2 separate regions of the Homo sapiens genome follow, and region 2 is linked to region 1. The links are contacts of gene promoters, found by promoter capture Hi-C in human tissues and cell types (Jung and others, 2019). All regions are on one chromosome and are shown on one strand. The core of a region is centred on a gene start or on the middle of the fragment in contact, and the rest is flanking DNA. Distances in the headings are between cores, read along the strand shown.

The links. The method cuts DNA at HindIII sites, captures the fragments that hold promoters and counts their contacts. A contact is called where the count stands out against the background at its distance.
Region 2: a contact is called between a fragment that was not itself captured here and the fragment with the promoter of TCF7L1 in region 1, in 2 of the 25 tissues and cell types used here (spleen and stomach).

What each region holds. Positions count from the first base shown.
Region 1 is chr2:85,131,303-85,134,822 of GRCh38, reverse strand. It overlaps TCF7L1 (transcription factor 7 like 1), which reads right to left and starts at 1,431. Exons shown (of 12, transcript NM_031283.3): 1 at 890-1,431; 2 at 744-807; 3 at 373-500. The coding sequence starts at 1,138. RefSeq lists enhancers at 1-246, 822-1,396 and a silencer at 1,762-1,831. The HindIII fragment of the contact is 29,167 bases long and covers 1-3,520 here.
Region 2 is chr2:85,094,876-85,098,274 of GRCh38, reverse strand. No RefSeq gene overlaps it. Among named protein-coding and RNA genes, the nearest start is that of LINC01964, 29 kb to the right of the region's middle. The HindIII fragment of the contact is 8,686 bases long and covers 1-3,399 here.

The DNA of each region.
Region 1 (3,520 bases), core at 182-2,681:
CTAGGCCCCTTGCCCCACTGCCAGAGAAAGCTGACCGATTTCCAAGAAGGAAAGCGAGACCCCCCCAAAGCGGGCACAAATCCAAGTTTCCTTCGGTGCAGGCGAAGAATTCTGGAGGCCAAGGAAGATCCCAGAGGTGGACTCCAAAACCTCAACCCGCAAGAGGGGAAAAGTTAAAGTAACTTTACTTTCATCCAGGCACTGGCCAGCGCAGCCTCGCGCTCGGCCGCCAGAGAGTAGTTCAACTCCGCAAACAAGTTCTGCTTGGGATCGGCGCAGAAGGCCCCATCCCCCACTCCATGGCCAAGCCCGGGGGCGCATCCTGCGGGCCGCGGCCTCCCACCCTCCCCGGCGCGCCCGACGGGCACTCACGGTGCGCGCTCCTCCGGGAGACAGGGGTCCGTTGGAGAGGTACGGGCTGCTCAGGTCCGGGATCATCAGGAAGGGGTACCCAGGGTACGGGGGTCCTTTAAAGAACGCGCTGTCCTGAGGCCTTCTCACTGCGAACAAGACCAAGGCGAGGTGAGGCCCAGGCCCCCGGGACTGACAGCGCCGCGGCAGGGGGCTCGAGGCGGGAGCTGGGGACCCCAGCGCCCCCCACGCGCGCCCCACGGGGGCTGCCGCCAATAAAGGCGGAGGGCAAGGGTGCGTCCACCCAAGCAAGGGGGACGGTGGGCCGCCCGGGCTGAGCAGCGGAGCGCAGCGGGAATCGAGAGTGGGGGGCTGTCCCAGCGGGCACATACCTTCGGCGAAATAGTCCCGCGGCTTCTGGAAAGTGTCCCGGACGGGCTGCGGGCGCCTCTCCGCCTGCGGAGGAGACACAAAGGCAAGAGCGGGTGAGCGGACGCAGGGCCGGGATCCCCCGGGGGTGGCCGCGGTGCTTCCTTACCTCCGAGTCCGAGCTGCTGCTCTGGTTCTCCGACTCGTTGACCAGGGACGACTTGACCTCGTCTAGGTCCCGCTGCGCCGAGGCGCTATCGCTGCTCGGCTCCTGCTCCTCGCCCCCCTCGTCCTGGAAGGGGATCAGCTCGTCGTTCGCCCCGAGGTCGTCCCCTCCGCCGGCCGCCCCGGCGCTGGAGCCGCCGCCTCCCCCGCTGCCGCCGCCGCCGCCGCCGCCCCCGCCGCCGAGCTGGGGCATGGTGGGGCCGCGGGCCGGGGCCGCCGCTCTCGGAGCCCCTAGCCGCCCGCGCCCTGCCCGGCCCGGCCCGGCGCCCCTCCCGCCCGCTTGCGGGCCCGCTGCGCTAGCCGCCGCAACAAAGTTTGACAGGGCGTGGCCCCGCGGGAAGCGGGCCCGGCGCTGCCCGGCCGGGGCGCAGGCGGCTCGGCTCGGGCCCCTCCGGCAGCGCCGAGCCTAGGGCTCCCCAACTCGCCACCGCCGCCGCCTGCTCCGCCGGGGCGTCCCAGCCCCTGGCCCGCCGGGGAGGGGCGAGCGGGGAGGGAGGGAGGAGGGACCGCCGGGCTGGGCAGGGGGGCCGGAGGGAGGAGCCCCGGCTGCAAGCTGACACCCGCGCGCCTCGCGGAACCCGGAGAGCTGCGGTGCGCGCGCACACACACACATACACACGCACTCACACTCACACGTTCACACTCGCATCTTCCAGGGGCTGCGTCTCCCTGCAACGTGCACCGCCCCCAACCCCCTCCTGCGCCTCACACTGCACCCTCGGCGGCCCTCCCCACGGCCTCCCTGGAGTCCTGGAAGTCTTGCGCCCACCCCTCCGCATCCCCTAACTTTCTCCCAAAGAACCTCCAGAACTCCGCGCAGGTTCCCACCCCCTCCCACCGTATCGGCGCGCGGGCGGGCGGCACTGCCCCCTGCGGGAAAGCCTCGGACGCACATACTGGCCGCGGGGCCCTCCCCCTGCCTAGAGTCCCTCCGAGTGCGCGAGCTGATGCACGGACTAGGACACTGGGGACATCTATGGAACCCCGGAAAATGCCCGGCGGCTTTCCGCGCCTTTTTCCTGTGGGGTTCCAACGCGACCCCCGGCCCAGGTTTTCAACCTTGTACAGATATACAGATTTCCCTGCTGAAATCTTGAAGATCACCTTTTCTTCATTGTTTGGGACTAGGTCCTAAATCGAAAAATCGCGGTCTTGGGTTCCAAAAGAATTTGGATTTGGTTCATTGAGAGGGAAAATTGCCTGTCCAGTGATCTCCGAAGCCATTCACAAAGCTGCGTGAGTAGCCAGTGAACACGAGAAAAATGCTCAACCAGCCTCATACCTAAGTAATGCCTGTGGTGCGAGCGCCACGGCCCGCGCCTGGAGTTCCATCTACTCCCGAGGCCTAGGCAGGAGGATCGCTGGAGCCCAGGAGTTTGAGACCAGCCTGGGCAACATAGCAAGACCTTGTCTCCAAAAAAAAAATTTTTTTAATAAAGAAATGCCTGTTACAATGACATTAAGATGTCGTTTCTCTCCAACCTGTGCGGGAAAGTTTGAGGAAAATGAATATCTTGTGTTATCCTCCGTGGGGAACTATTAGAGCATAAACTTTGAAAACAGCTTGGAAGGCAGTATGGAACTATGTAAAACTATTTTCAGCCCAACTGGCAGAAGAGTTTCTACAGAGGTGCCCGCACATATGGGCAAAGCCACATATGCTAGGTTCAAAGCATCAGAGAGCTTGGTGACATGCATTCTTCATCTTTCTTTACAGTGACAGTCCATGCAGCTGGCCAGTTCTATGCAGTGTCCCCGCCCCTCCCCCCACCCATACACACACACACACACACACACACACACACACACACACACACACACACAGGCACATGGACCAAGATTGATTTTGGAGGAACATCTTTAAATGAAACACTATATATGACACTCACTATTTTATTTTTGTTTTTAAAAAAATTATACACATTTATTTCTGCGTAGAAAAAAATCTGAGAAGATGCAAATTATTATCAATGACTATTTCTGGGAAAGGATAAGTGAAAGGAGATAGTTTTCTGGTTTCTATGAACTTTATAACAAGCAGATATGCCTTTTCTAATTTTTTACACAATACATGAGTACAGTCTCATAAAGCGTTTTCAAATAACAGATGTATCTTGAGCAGTATCGAGTAACAAGTAAAAGTTCCTCTTTCCCCCTCAGGACACAGGACCCTTCTAATTAACCACTTTCAGTTAACTGCCTCTGGTTAACCACTGTCACTAGTTTGGTATATATCCTTCCAGACACTTTCCTAGGCAGTTATGAACATATGTAAACGTATTTACAGATATTCTGATGTACATACATAGAATCATACTCTTTGTATTATTGTGTGTTATTTTATTTTTATAAGATTTAAAAGTCAGACGATTTTTCATGTTTATGGTCCATAAATATATGAAAAACCTATTGTACTAGTTTTCTGCTGCTACTGTCACAAATCACGAAAACTTGGTGGCTTAAAACAACAGAAGTTTATCCTCTCATAGTTGTGGAAGACAGAAGTCCACTGTCAGTTTCACTGAGTAGAAATGGAGGTGTTGACGGGGCCATGCTCCCTCTGGAGGCTCCGAAA
Region 2 (3,399 bases), core at 242-2,741, 37 kb after region 1:
GAAAACCCATCTCTACTGAAAATACAAAAATTAGCCAGGCGTGGTAGTGGGCACCTGTAGTCCCAGCTACTTCGGAGGCTGAGACAGGAGAATTGCTTGAACCTGAGAGGCGGAGGTTGCAGTGAGCCAAGATCACGCCATTGCACTCCAGCCTGGATGACAGAGCGAGACTCTGTCTCAAAAAAAAAAAAAAAAAAAAATTCTTTCTTGACTAAATCGTTATTTGGAAGTGTGTTGTTTAATTTCCACCTATATGAGCTTCAAGTCAGTAATTAAAAAAAAATTCCACCTATTTGTGGATATACCGAATTTCTCTCCATTGATTTCTATTTCCATTTAATTGTAATTGGAGAACATAATTTGTATTATTTCTGTCCTTTTAAATTTATTGAGGTTTGTTTTATGACCTGTCATATGATCTATCTTTAGAGTGTTCCATGTGCACTTAAAAATTTTGATTCCACTTTTGCTGGGTGAAGTGTTCTGTAGATGTCTGTTAAGTCTAGTTTGTTTCTAGCGCTGTTCAAGTCTTCTATTTCCTTGTCGACCTTCTGTCTAGTTGTTCTACCCATTATTGAAAATGAAGCATATAAGTCTTCAACTATTATTGTCAAATTGTCTATTTCTCTCTTCAATTCTTTCATTTTTTGGCTTCACATATTTTGCATTTCTGTTGTTAGCTGCATATATGTGTGTAATTGCTACATTTTCTTGATGGATTTTGCGGCACCTCTTTACAGAGGAAAAGTGATCTTGAATTTTATTGCAATTTACAAATATTACAAATGTTAAGGTATTATATTTATTGGTGACATCTCTTGACTCAGTCTGGATAAAGATGTTGTTAATTTTACTGTATTACATAAAACCTCTTTGGCATTAGGTAACAATGTCATTAACAGGGGGCCTTGTTGCACTTGGGGGAGCAAAATCCTCCCATTTCTCATGCTGCATATTGTTCTAGAGTCTGCTCAACTCTAAGTTTCCATCTGGCATTGTTAGTGTCTCATTAACTGTATGACTTTTCCTATCCTAGGCAATAATTCTGCTACTAAATAATTTTTTTCCTGAGCCTTTTTTCTGCTTGTGACTTTTAAAAACTTTAGTCTGTTTGAAGATTCCAGTAACTACTTACAATAATCAGCCCGTTTACTTGTCAAATGACTATGATTTGTAGTCGAGTGTCTTTTCACTTTTGTGGGAGCCGTTGCTGAATGTGTAAGTTGCTCACCACAGATGACACACAAATGAACAGAAAACTCAAAGCCCATGTAAAGCCCATTTACAAATATCTTTAATTATGTAGATGAACTTTTTTGTGTCCATTGTCCTCTAGTGCATTGAAATGACTCAGAAAACTGAAATTTCTCATCGCTAATTTGAGAAGTGTCGTAGCCAGGTGCAGGGATGAGTGCCTGTAATCTCAGCTACTTGGGAAGCCGAGACACCTTAAGCTTGGGAGTTCCAGACCACAGACCAGCCTGGGGGCAACATAGCAAGACCTTGTCTCTTAAAAAAAAAAAAAAAATGCCAGTGTAGTGGCTCATGCTTATAATCTCAGCACTTTGGGAGGCTGAGGTGGGTGGGTCACCTGAGGTCAGGAGATCGAGACCAGCCTGGCCAACGTGGTAGAACCCCGTCTCTACTAAAAATACAAAAATTAGCCAGGAGTGGTGGCAGACGCCTATAATCCTGGCTACTTGGGAGGCTGAGGCAGGACAATCACTTGAACCTGGGGTGTGGAGGTTGCAGTGAACCGAGATCATGCCACTGCACTCCAGCCTGGGTGATGGATTGAGACTCCATCACAAAAAAGAAAGGAAAAAAAAAAAAAAAGAAGAAAAAGGAAAAAAGGGAAGTTTCTGTAAACCTAGGCTTTGAATCCCCCTTTTCTTTTTTATACTACATCTATCTTCAAAAATCAGCATATTGGACTATCAAACATGTTGGTAAGACACAAACGCTAGTTCTAAGAGGATATAACTGGAAGAGTATGGTAAATATCTACCTGAGAAAATTGAAAAAATGATGAATGTGTCACAGTATGCATCACTTCTAATATATGCAATTCACATTTTGCAATGTTTACAGTAACTGCAAAATGACAAGGATGGATGTCCTTGTCATTGTAGCACTAAAAATTCCATCTTTAGCATGAAACTTTACCTCTTATTTTCTACTAAACTGATAAGGCGTGTTTGCCTTGTGAGTAAAATGGCAGTGTGTAAGGAAGCTGGGAAAGGAAATTTGAGTAAGAGAGTGTGGTGTTCTAAAATATGTCCACAAAAAAGGTGGAGCTGGCTCATGCCTGTAATCCCAGCACTTTGGGAGGCCGAGGCGGGTGGATCACCTGAGGCCAGGAGTTCGAGACCAGCCTGGCCAACATGGTGAAACCCCGTCTCTACTAAAAATGCAAAAAAATTAGCCAGGCGTGGTGGCACACACCTGTAATCCCAACTACTAGGGAGGCTGAGGCAGGAGAATCACTTGAACTTGGGAGGTGGAAGTTGCAATAAGCTGAGATCAGGACACTGCACTCCAGCCTAGGTGACAGAACCAGACTCCATCTCAAAAAAAAAAAAAAAAAAAAAAAAGTGGAGCCCATTTCCACTCCCTCATCCCCTCAAGCATGAGCTATCCCTAGTGATTTGCTTAGTGAATGGCATGTGGCAGAAGTGACAGTGTGTGATATTCAAGATCAGGACATACAGAGCATGTGCAGCTGTGCAAGGGGCTCACACCTGTAATCCTAGCACTTGGGGAGGCCAAGGCGGGAGGGTCGCTTTTGGACAGGAGTTTGAGACTAGCCTGGGAAATATAGCAAGACCCTGTCTGTACAAAAAACTTTAAAAATTAGCCAGGCATGGTGGCACGTGCCTGTAGTTCCAGTGAGGTGGGAGGCTGAGGCAGGAGGATGGCTGGAACCCAGAAGTTAGAGGTTACAGTGAGTAATGATTGCACCACTGCATTCCAGTCTTTGCAACAGAGCAATATCCTGTCTCTAAGAAAAGGAAAGCACTGTGGCTTTCTCCATGCGCTCTCTCTTGGATCACTCTCCTGGGGGAAAACCAGAAACCAAGATGTCAGGACACTTAAGCAGCCCTAGGAAGAGTCCCACATGGCAAGGAACTGAAACCTTCTGCCAATAATAAAGTAAGGTCCTTTGTTCACATGTTTATCTGCTGACCTTCCCTCCACTATTGTCCTATGACCCTGCCAAATCCCCCTCTCCGAGAAACACCCAAGAATGATCAATAAATACTAAAAAAATAAAAAATAATAATAATAAAGTAAGGGAGCCATCTTGGAGGTAGACCCCCACCAGACCCTGTCAAGCCTTCAGGTGACTGAATCCCCAGATGACATCCTGATTGCAACCCTACAAGAGCCTGAGCTAGA